4 separate regions of the Homo sapiens genome follow, and regions 1, 2 and 3 are each linked to region 4. Evidence: promoter capture Hi-C in 16 types of primary human blood cells and fetal thymus (Javierre and others, 2016). All regions are on one chromosome and are shown on one strand. Each heading gives the region's core, a stretch centred on a gene start or on the middle of the fragment in contact. The rest is flanking DNA. Distances are from core to core; before and after follow the strand shown. Region 1 overlaps LHPP (phospholysine phosphohistidine inorganic pyrophosphate phosphatase). Region 2 overlaps LHPP (phospholysine phosphohistidine inorganic pyrophosphate phosphatase). Region 3 overlaps LHPP (phospholysine phosphohistidine inorganic pyrophosphate phosphatase). Region 4 holds the start of ZRANB1 (zinc finger RANBP2-type containing 1).

Region 1 (2,700 bases), core at 95-2,594, 420 kb after region 4:
TCACTCTAGGGGCCGAGCTTAACCCTCCCCTGTTCAGCCCACACAGCTGGGGCTCAGCCCCACTTGACACATGAGGAAACCCAGAGCCAAGCAAGGCAAAAAGATCATGCTCAAGCCGGGTAATCCCAGCACTTTGGGAGGCCAAGGCGGGGAGATCACTTGAGCCCAGGAGGCTGGGCAACACAGGGAGACTCCATCTTTATAAAAAATTTAAAAATTAGTTGGGCGTGGTGGCATAAACCTGTTTCCCAGCTATTTGGGAGGCTGAGGCGGGAGAATCACTTGTGCCCAGGAGTTCCAGGCTGCAGTGGGCCATGATGGTGCCACTGCACTCCCACCTAGGAAACAGAACAAGACCGCATCTCAAAAAGAAAAAAACAAAAAAAAAAAAGCACAAAGAGATCACGTCCAAGGTTACATGGTTAGCACGCGGCAGGGGACTGGGTCTCATACCCAGATTCTGGCAGTGCTCTTGGGGTCTCCGGGCAGCTGGACTCCCCCTCTGGAGGGTGGGGCTGGGCTTTTCTGTCTCCCTGCTGCTCTGGTTTCAGCCCCCGGGCTCATGAAAAGTCAGGGAGAGCACCCGGGGCTACCAGGCTGGGCCTGGGCAAAGGGCACCCCAGCCTGGAACTACGTTTGGAGCTGGAGTAGGGGGCCTTGTCCCTGGCTGTCCCCAACCTGAGGACAGTGGAGCTAGAGGAGCACACCGGGTTCACATCCTGGGACCCACCCATGACACAGAGGAACCTGTGCACAAATAAAACCACTGCTGCAAGATGGTTGAAAATAAGAACTGCGTCCAGCTGTGCCTGCAAGGACAGGAGTCAGGGGCCTCTGAGCCCCCTTTCCTTCCTTCTTCACTTTTCCAGGCTGGAAAAGATGTAGCAATCAAAGGGTCAAAAATGCAGATTCCCTGATGCATCAGAACACAGCAGCAATGGTGAATGCTGTGGGGGATGTGCCCTCCCCTGCCCCTGGGCTGTAAGCGCCACCAGCCCTGGCCGTGTCCCCGAGCCGCAGAGCAGCAGCGGAAAGGCAGAGGCCAGCCCTGTGGGCAGCGAGAGGGCTCAGGTGAGACTCCAGGTCTCAGAGGGGCTCTGTGGCGGGCAGGCTCTGGCAGCCCTGGGGGCATCCAGCAGAGCCCAAGTGGCCCAGGTTCATGTTAAGGTTAGAGAACATTTTGGGCAGGTGGCCGGCCTGGCTAGGACGGTGGCCACAGCTCCTGCTGCAAGTTCACTGCGGGCCCCTTCTTCCCCTGCTTGCTGCGGCCTGGCCACGGCTTCCCAGATCTGCCTGGGTCCCCTCCCCACCTCCCCACCACACACTGGAGGGGAAGAGAGCGCTTGGGTTCAGCGGACTTTAACCACAAAGGCAGCAACGATGGGACTTCTGGGGCTGTCACCTGTCACATCTCCGCCAGGCTCTCAGGTGGGTGGGTGGGGTCTAATGACCAACTTCAGGGCCTGCCCTAGGTCAGAAGCCCCCAGAGCCAGGTCCTGCTTATGTCCAGCTCAGCAGCAGGTCGTGTGTGTGTGGAGGGGGCCAAAGCGGGGGAGGGCGGGAGCTGACCAGTCCTGTGAGCCCCCACACTGGCTACTATTGTTTTGTGAGGCCCGGCCCCTGCTCAGAGCTCCAGCAACACTTGGCTAATTGGGGGGTGGCTTGAGAATGTTCAGGGGCACAGGCCTTGGAGTCAGGCAGAGGTGGGTTCGAATCCCGATTCTGACACTGGTAGGCTGTGTGGCCTTGGGCAAGTTACTTCACCTCTCTGAGCTTCCATTTGCAAATCTAAATGGTAGGGGTAAGAAGGCGGGTGGCTTCTCTGGGCTGTTGCAGGGTGTAGACGAGCTGAGGCTGAGTGTGTGTAAGCATGAGCACTGGCCCCGCCATGAGGCATACCTGCGTTATCCCCCTTCCAGCTCCTGGGGAACGCGCTTCAGGGAGTGTCTTGGGAGAAGAGCACGTGTGAGCACCAGGTCCAGAGCACGTGCCTTGCAACACGTGTTGAGCGGCTCTAGGGAGAAGAGAGGGCCCTGCTGACGCTCCCTCAATCCCTGTCCCACCACTCCAGCGCCTTCCAGGACCCTCGAGGGACCTGCACGTTCCCAAGAGGCAAATTCCTGGGGTTGGGAGGCTGCCTACAGGGGTCCTACCTTCTGGGCCAACCCCCAGGCCTTGTGGCCTCACTCTGCAGCCACCTCCCGGCCTCCACCTGGGACCCCCTTCCTCAGCTCAGAGCCCCCCAGCCCTCAGCCCACCGGTTTTCCCACAGGCGGCACCAAGCCCAGCAGGGGGGTTCAGGTTTTAACATCTTTCCCCTCTTGCCCTGGACATGAAGCAGCCTTGCTCAGGAACCAAGAATGCTAATGAGGGTCAGTACCAGAGAGGGTGACTGTTCCCAATCCTGTCTCCCCTGCCCCAGCAGCCAACAGAAGGCAGGAAACCCAGCAGAGGAGGAAGCTGATGCTGCCCCAACCAAAGCCATGGGGGCCACGATGGGGTGTCTGCCCCTGGAAACCCCATGTTCACCTGCTGAGCCATGTGGACCCCACCAGCCTCCTTTCACACACTCGCCTCCGCCTCGGGTCTCCTCCCCACTCTCTCAGGAGGCCCAGCGTCCGGGACTGCCACATGCTGACAATGTCCAGAAACCTCCCAGGACCGTAAACTGGGAAGAACATGGGCCTCCCTCCCAGAACA
Region 2 (2,700 bases), core at 81-2,580, 440 kb after region 4:
TACCCCTGCACCTGAAATCCTCCCTACCCCCCCACCTGAAATCCTGTCTACCCCTACACCTGAAATCCTCCCTACCCCCCTCACCTGAAATCCTGTCTACCCCCCGACCTGAAATCCTCCCTACCCCCCTCACCTGAAATCCTGTCTACCCGCCCACCTGAAATCCTCCCTACCCCCCCACCTGAAATCCTGTCTACCCCCCAACCTGAAATCCTCCCTACCCCCCAACCTGAAATCCTGTCTACCTCTCCACCTGAAATCCTCCCTACCCCCTACCTGAAATCCTCCCTACCCCCCCACCTGAAATCCTCCCTACCCCCCCCAACCTGAAATCCTCCTTACCCACCCCACTTGAAATCTTCCCTACCCCCCAACCTGAAATCCTCCTTACCCACCCCACTTGAAATCTTCCCTACCCGCCAACCTGAAATCTTCCCTACCCCCCAACCTGAAATCCTCCCTACCCTCCCCACCTCCCTAAGAAATTCTGCTGCACCGCTGGTCCTCCCTGAGAGTTGGGCTATGGCAAAGAGCACTGGACGGGGCTGGAAGACGATGGTTTGGTGCCTGGCTTCACTCCTCATTGGCAAAGTAATCTTGGGTTCAGTACTAGAGTTCTCCGTAACCGTTCTCTTAATACCGCTTAATGCTGCGGTTCTCCCCAGGGCACATCTGGCAATGTCTACAGACAATTTTGGTTTCACAGCTTGGGAAGGGGGTGGTCCCATGTAGTGGGCGGACAGTGGGATGCTGTTTAGCACCCTACAATGCATAGGACATCCCCTCACCACAAAATGACCCAGTCCAAAAACACCAAGTGTCGAGGTTGAGAAACCGCGGGGTGGGGGGGGGGTTTGTTGTTTTTTTTGAGACAAGGTCTTACTCTCTTGTCCAGCCTAGAGTACAGTGGTACCATCTTGGCTCACTGCAACCCCTGCCTCCCAGATTCAAGCGAATCTCGTGCGTCAGCTTCCTGAGCAGCTGGGACCACAGGCATGTGCCAGCCACCATGCCCAGTTAATTTTTGTATTTTTTTGTAGAGACAGGGTTTCACCATGTTACCCAGGCTGGTCTCGAACTCCTGGGCTCGTGATCCACCCACCTCGGCCTCCCAAAGTGCTGGGATTACAGGTGTGAGCAACTGCGCCCAGCCTGAGAAATCCTGTCTTAACCTCATGGTGGGAATGCAAAGCGCCTATGACAAGGTGTTTCATCTCTAAGCTTCAGGCTCCTCACCTGTGAAACGGGCCCCTCCAGGCGAGGGTTCTTGGCTGTCACATATAACTAAGTGCTCTGGTTTGAACAGTCTCAATCTCCACTAAACCTGCAGGATTTGCATCCCACAGAACTTCTTATGATGATGGAGAACTGCCAAAACCTTCACATCACTTGGGTGCTCATATGAAGCTATAAAACCATCCACTGATTCAGAAGCTTAAACCGTGAGAATTAGATATTTCTAGAAGTAACCTTTAAGGTATGTTATTCTTTGCCTTATTACTGAATCCTAGAAAGGGCCAGGTTGCCTCTAAGAGGTTTGAATTTCCAATCTATTAGCATAATACCAGCAATCTGTGATTTCTAGGCCACTGAGGAAAGGTTAAAATGAAAATTGGATTTGGGGAGTTATATCTATTCTGAGTGCAGACTGAAAACTCAGCAGCAAGAAGCAGGTCAGGGTCTCGGGAAGCAGCAGTGATCAAGGGAAATGACTGGTGATAACTTTATTGATTAAAGCAGCTGGAAAAATTTAAGGTTTGCCACAGCCTGGCATTCAGCAGCAAGAGAGGTCCTTGCAGGCATTTTTCATTAAAAATAAAAAAGCCAGGAACAGAGAATTATTACCCTGTGCATAAGACACAGTTCATTTGAAATGGCCTTATCTTGAAATACAGCTTTAAAATGTCTACACATCCTGAGAGTCAAATAACGTTAGTGAGCATTTTAGGAAAATGGCAGGGTGGGGACGTTCGGAACATGCAGCTGCTACTCCACTGTCAAGGGGACAGGCAGAAATGTCATATGAGGGTAGGAGAGGATGATGATGTGGGAGGTAAATAAGACACAGCTTTGCCACATATGCTCGGAGCCACCAGAGGAAACAAGTCTTTCGCTCTCCAGGGCCACAGATGCTCAGGGTGGATGGCAGCGGCAGGGACCAAAGCCTCAAGCAGCCACGGTGACCCACCAGGAATCCACAGCCCCGCTCCCTCCCAGACGCACTGCCCCAGCATCCGAAAACGACAAACCCAGATTCACCAGACCCCCATGAGGGGTCTTCTTTCGGCGGTGAGGTGGGCTGTATCTCATTCGAAATGTGAAGGAAGCTGACTGTGAAAATAACTGAAAATGCCACAAGAAAAAGGCAGGGAGACCACCCAAGGTCAGACCATCCAAATATCACCAGCAATGCCATCTGGACAGCCAGTCTCGTCTCCTCCCCTCTCTTCCCTTCCCCTTCCCTCCTTCCTTCCTTCTTTCCTTCCTTCCTTCTTGCTTTCCTATTTTTTTTTTTTTGAGACAGGGTCTCGCTCAGTTGCCCAGGCTGGAGTGCAGTGGTGCAATCTCAGCTTGCTGCAACCTCAACCTCCTGGGCCCAAGCAATCTGCCCACCTCAGCCCCCCAAGTAGCTGGAACCATAGGCACATGCAACCACATCTGCCTTTTTTTTTTTTTTGCATTTTTTCTGTAGAGACGGGG
Region 3 (2,700 bases), core at 178-2,677, 450 kb after region 4:
AAAGACAGAGATGGACACCCACAGATGGGAGAGATACCCACAGACAGAGAGAGATACCCACAGATGGCGAAAGACACCCACAGACAGAGAGAGACACCCACAGACAGACAGCCATAGAGAGAAAGAGACACCCACAGATGGAGTGCTGTCCCCCTGGTGCCAGTGAGAAAGCTGAGGCTGGGAATGGGTCAGCAACCGAATTTCAGTTTACAGGCGTATTTGGTCGTGGACATGGTCAGCCACCTCAGTAAAACTGGTGAGGGTTATTTTGCATTGAATAAACTTATAAGCAGAAAAAAAAAAAAAGAAAAAAATTACAAGAGGTTGGGGGCGGTGGCTCATGCCTGTAATCCCAGCACTTTGGGAGGCCAAGGCGGGCGGATCACAAGGTCAGGAGATTGAGACCATCCTGGCCAACATGGTGAAACCCCGCCTCTACCAAAAATATAAAAATTAGCTGGGATGGTGGCGGGCGCCTGTAGTCCCAGCTACTCAGGAGGCTGAGGCAGGAGAATCGCTTGAACCCGGGAGGGAGAGGTTGCAGCGAGCCGAGATCACGCCGCTGCACTCCAGCCTGGGTGACAGAGCGAGACTCAGTCTTAAAAAATATATATATATACAAGATAGCCACACCATAGATAACCATGCCCCAAGACATATCCATTTGCTGCATGCTAAGTCAGTCACAAATATTGTTTGGTGAACAATAAAAAACAGATGACAAAACAAGGTCAAGTGTGACATCGATGCTGTGAACATCTCCATCCATAATAGTCTATTCGCACAGGAAGCCACTTGCAAGGACATACACCAAAATAGGGACAGGTGTTTTCCTCGTGCAGTGGGACTAAAAATACTTTCTGGTTTCTTCTTTTGCTCATCTGTATTGTCTAATTTTTCTTCAATGAACATGTGCTATCTCAGTGTAAGAAAAATGTTAAAAATAACCAACACTGTTTTGTTTAAGAAAGAGATGGCAAGGCATGTGCTAAAGGCTCAGACAAAACACTGATCACAAAATCACAACTTCACAGAGACAGTGATCTGTGGCCAGAGACTGTCGGTGCCCAGACTGGGTAGGCCCTCAAGCCTATGTTTTACTAATTAGACAACCCTTGAGAGCATTCTCCAACACCCTGCTACATCCTATGCAAATGCACCTTCTCCTTCTTTGCTCTAAACTTGGGACAATCAACACTTGGCCTCTGAGATCTCCAGAGGGTCTCCCTCTGCAATGACGCCCTCTTCTAGTCTAGACTCCACATGGAAGCTTGATCAACCAGCTCCTGAAGACAGTGTTCCTATTTCCTAAAGAAATGATTAAAGGAGAGGAATAAAGAAATGAAGAGAGAAAGCATGAAAAAGGGAGGGAAAAGAAGATCACCGGTGCTCCTCCCACCTCCCCTTCTGCATCCTTCTCTGCCTGATTCCGCAAGTTGGAGACTGGCACAGCATCATCTAAAGCACCGAGAAATGACTCTCCCTGGAGCCAACTTACCCTTTTCCCAGTGATATGAGCACAGGTTTTTCCAGCTCCATGAGCACCTGGAAGGCGTTATTCATGTTTTGATAAGAAAAGCTTTCTCCTGCGTCTGCAATTACCACACAGTTTGGGTTGGATGTGTCGATCTGATCAAATTCTGAGCGGACTCCTGGAAAGAGAGAGAGAGACAGAGTGCCACGGAGCCCTGGGAGGACATGGCCTACCTCCCCATCTCCTACCAGGGACACCTTTCACATGTCCTCCCCCTTTCTCAGATGCATTTCTTTCTGATCATCACAGCTGCCATGGGAGGTAGACACAGAAGGGTTATTCCTATTTGACAGAGGAGGGAATTCGGCTCCTCAGAGAGGGCTTATGAGGAGAAAGGTGGACACACCCAGGACCCTCCATCCCAATACCACATCAGCCCCAGGAGCTCCCTGAGGTCACTATCGCAGGCAGGAAACCCACAGCTTTGCTACTGAGAAGGGAAATCTGCTCAGAAGACACTGAGAGCCTGCAGCAGGAGGAAATGGGGCTGCACAAGCCTTGGAGGGTTGGCACTACTGGTCCCAAACTGTAAGAACCGTTGACACATTTCAGGCAACCCCACACATATGTCCTGAAGAAAAAGCAGAATTCCATCCCCACAGGTCCAGTTCACCAGCTCCCTTAGGAAACTCTCTTCCTCCTTCTCCTTCTTTGTCTTCCCCCATTTTAAATTAAAATAGGAAAATTTGCAAGGATACATCAAATCATTGGATCTGTGTTTTCAGATCCTAGAAGAAACATGCTGTCATCTCTCTTAGGACTAGATGTTGACCTTTCTAAATTGAAAAGAAACTGAGGCCAGGTGCGGTGGCTCATGCCTGTAATCCCAGCACTTTGGGAGGTCAAGGTGGGCGGATCGCCTGAGTTCAGGAGTTCGAGACCAGCCTGGCCAACATGGTCAAAATCCCATCTCTACTAAAAATACAACAATCAGCCCGGCACGGTGGCGGCCGCCTGTAATCTCAGCTACTCAGGAGTCTGAGGCAGTAGAATCACTTGAACCCGAGAGGCAGAGGTTGCAGTGGGCTGAGATTGCACCACTGTATTCCAGCCTGGGCAACAGAGCGAGACTCTGTCTCAAAAAAAAAAAAAAAAAAGAAAGAAAGAAACTGAAATACACAATGAGATACGATTTCATACCCACCAGAATGGTGAGAATTAAAAAG
Region 4 (2,700 bases), core at 146-2,645:
CATGTGCGTGGAGACACAGTCTCACTATGTTACCCAAGCTGGAGTGCAAGTGCTATTCACAGACCGATCATGGCATACTACAGCCTCAAACTCCTGGTTTCAAGCAAGTGGCTAAGACCACAAACGTGTGTCAGCGCACCCAGCTCTTTTCATATCATTTTTACTACCTTTTCCCATCCCACGCAAAAAATGCAGAATACAGAAACTTACCCACACAAGCATTGAGGAAGAGCCAATCAGTCTTTTTCATCCTGTTTTTAATTTGCTTTAGTTTTTTAAAGTCTACTTCAAGTTCCTCCTTGCTTCCCACAGCACCAGCCAATTCAATCCTCTGAAAATCCATTTTCACTTCAGAGTCCCGCTTCGTAGCAGGAGGTGATCTCCTTTGGCTATTACCACTACTGCAACTTCCCCTCCATCGAGCTCTGTCTTGCTCATTTATTATTGAAGAAGCCTCTTCAGTCTCTGCCAATTCTATTGCTTCAATGTTATTAGGTCTGGGATGATCACAAACAACACATCTTTTAGCCTTGGCCCAGTTTTCATATGTGCAAACAGAGCAAGTCCAGTGCTGTGTCCTAGTGTTCAGTTTATTTCTATCATTGTATTCCTCACAAGGATCAACAGAAAAAGCAACTGGTCTTGAGCCAGATCCTGAGGACTGAGGAGATTCTGTAGGACTCCTGGTCCTACGTTGGGATAAGCACTGGGTACATCTGATTGCTCTTGGCCAGTTCAAATATGTACACATGTGGCATGACCACTTATTTGCATTTTCCATGCTATACGAAGATTTCACCCTTGGTCTTGCACTAGAGTCTGGACATATCAAAGGACTACTTCCTCCTTCGGTGCTGGAAGGATCCCAATCTCTACCAACATCACTTGAACCACTTTTAAATGGATCTTCTGTAATAATTGTTCCACTAGGTCTTTGGGCACGACACATAGTACACTTGATTGCAGATGGCCAGTTTTCATACGTACAATATTCACAAGCCCACTTAATTCCACGTTCTGACATTGTGCACTTCTTGAAGTGAGCTGTGTCAGGCAGGAAGCTATAAATAATTAGGACATGGTTATTAAAATAACTACATTCCACCTCCAAAAATACGCTGCCCAAAAAGCAAGTCCTTCAACCTACAAAATATAAATTTCTCAAAAGATGCATGCAACATTTCGACATTGAATTATCCTAATTTTCTTTTTTAATTTCCATAGAAACACTGGAGATAAATTCTCAAAGAAAAAATCTTAGACCCTGGGATTTAATAAAACTGAACTTTGGAATGCAAAAGAGATAGGCAGGAGATATAACGAGGTTTGATCTAAGAAGGATGAGATTAACGGGAAGCCACTAATAGAAATGTTTAATTTCAGGGAGGCCATCACATCAATTTAGAAAAGTAACCAATAGTTTAAAGAGACAAAGGTAGAGGAAACAACACAAACTAAAAAATAGCTTAAACACATAACCATTCTCAAATTATGAACACAGATTATGATTCATGAATTCAGAAGATCAAGCAACGTCTATTTTATCATTCTCGCTAAGGGAGAAAAGCAACTTAAAATGCTAATTATCCACTGTTCTTAATTAGCACAGGTAGTAAAGAAACATGTTGAGAAGTAATGGCTACAATTAACAAAGTAACATTATGAAATAGGTAGTTCCTTGATAATCTGTAGCCTCAAAATCTAGTTCTATCTGGAGTAAAAAAAAGAAGACTGTACTGGGGAAAATTAAATCTGTGGAAGGTCACTGAAATAACCAGTAGCATAATCATTCCAATATAATTGTGAATGTTCATAATTAAAATATTTTAAATTTTGAATATTTAAAATATACTCAAAATCTAATTCATGGCCGGGGGCAGTAGCTCAAGCCTATAATCCCAGCATTTTGGGAGGCTGAGGCGGGTAGATCACAAGGTCAGGAGTTCAAGACCAGCCTGGCCAAGATGGTAAAGCCCCGTCTCTATAAAAATACAAAAATTAGCCGTGCATGGTGGTAGGTGCCTGTAATCCCAGCTACTCAGGAGGCTGAGGCAGAGAACTGCTTGAACCCGGCAGGCAGAGGTTGCAGTGAGCTAAGATCGCACCACTGCACTCTAGCCTGGGTGACAGAGTGAGACTCCATCCCCTGCCCCCCAAAAAATCCAATTCATATTTAAAAGATATTCACACTACTTAAAAGATTTCTAGGATTCAACAATGGGCTAACACTACACTATAATGAAGAAAGACTTCATAATTTAATGGCAACTAATTCATAAATGAAGCAACTTACATAACAAATTTAATTTTTTTTTTTTTAATGGCTTGAATTTAGACACTGGCCACTTTTCCTAAATACTTTTATCAACTCAGTATCATCCCAACACCTATTTTTCACCCGGAAAGAGAAAGAAATCCTAGGCAGAGTATAGAAGCTTTGCTCTCTCTTTCTCAGGGATTTTTCCTGAACCTAGAGGGTTAAATCTTTTGTTTGTTTGTTTTTTTGTTGTTGTTGTTTTCATTTTTGTTTTTTTGAGATGGAGTCTTGCTATGTTTTGCCCAGGCTGGAATGCAGTGGAGTGGTGCAATCTAAGCTCACTGCAACCTCCACCTCCCAGGTTCAAGCGATTCTCCTGCCTCAGCCTCCCAAGTAGCCGAGATTACAGGTGCATGCCACCATGCCCGGCTAATTTTTGTATT

What was found. The method cuts DNA at HindIII sites, captures the fragments that hold promoters and counts their contacts. A CHiCAGO score of 5 or more calls a contact.
Region 1: a fragment that was not itself captured here is called in contact with the fragment with the promoter of ZRANB1 in region 4 in 8 of 17 cell types (M1 macrophages, erythroblasts, M0 macrophages and 5 more); the score reaches 8.9 in M1 macrophages.
Region 2: a fragment that was not itself captured here is called in contact with the fragment with the promoter of ZRANB1 in region 4 in 1 of 17 cell types (total CD8 T cells); the score reaches 7.4 in total CD8 T cells.
Region 3: a contact is called between a fragment that was not itself captured here and the fragment with the promoter of ZRANB1 in region 4, in 3 of 17 cell types (fetal thymus, total CD8 T cells and activated CD4 T cells). The highest score is 5.9, in fetal thymus.

The regions. Positions count from the first base shown.
Region 1 is chr10:124,525,464-124,528,163 of GRCh38, reverse strand. All of the region lies in intron 6 of LHPP (phospholysine phosphohistidine inorganic pyrophosphate phosphatase), which reads right to left. Among named protein-coding and RNA genes, the nearest start is that of LHPP, 65 kb to the right of the region's middle. The HindIII fragment of the contact is 9,266 bases long and covers 1-2,700 here.
Region 2 is chr10:124,504,417-124,507,116 of GRCh38, reverse strand. All of the region lies in intron 5 of LHPP (phospholysine phosphohistidine inorganic pyrophosphate phosphatase), which reads right to left. Among named protein-coding and RNA genes, the nearest start is that of LHPP, 44 kb to the right of the region's middle. The HindIII fragment of the contact is 213 bases long and covers 1,224-1,436 here.
Region 3 is chr10:124,487,374-124,490,073 of GRCh38, reverse strand. It overlaps LHPP (phospholysine phosphohistidine inorganic pyrophosphate phosphatase), which reads right to left. Exons shown (of 7, transcript NM_022126.4): 3 at 1,499-1,652. Among named protein-coding and RNA genes, the nearest start is that of LHPP, 27 kb to the right of the region's middle. The HindIII fragment of the contact is 309 bases long and covers 1,273-1,581 here.
Region 4 is chr10:124,940,818-124,943,517 of GRCh38, reverse strand. ZRANB1 (zinc finger RANBP2-type containing 1) reads right to left here and starts at 1,395. Exons shown (of 9, transcript NM_017580.3): 1 at 211-1,395. The coding sequence starts at 1,024. The HindIII fragment of the contact is 2,790 bases long and covers 1-2,437 here.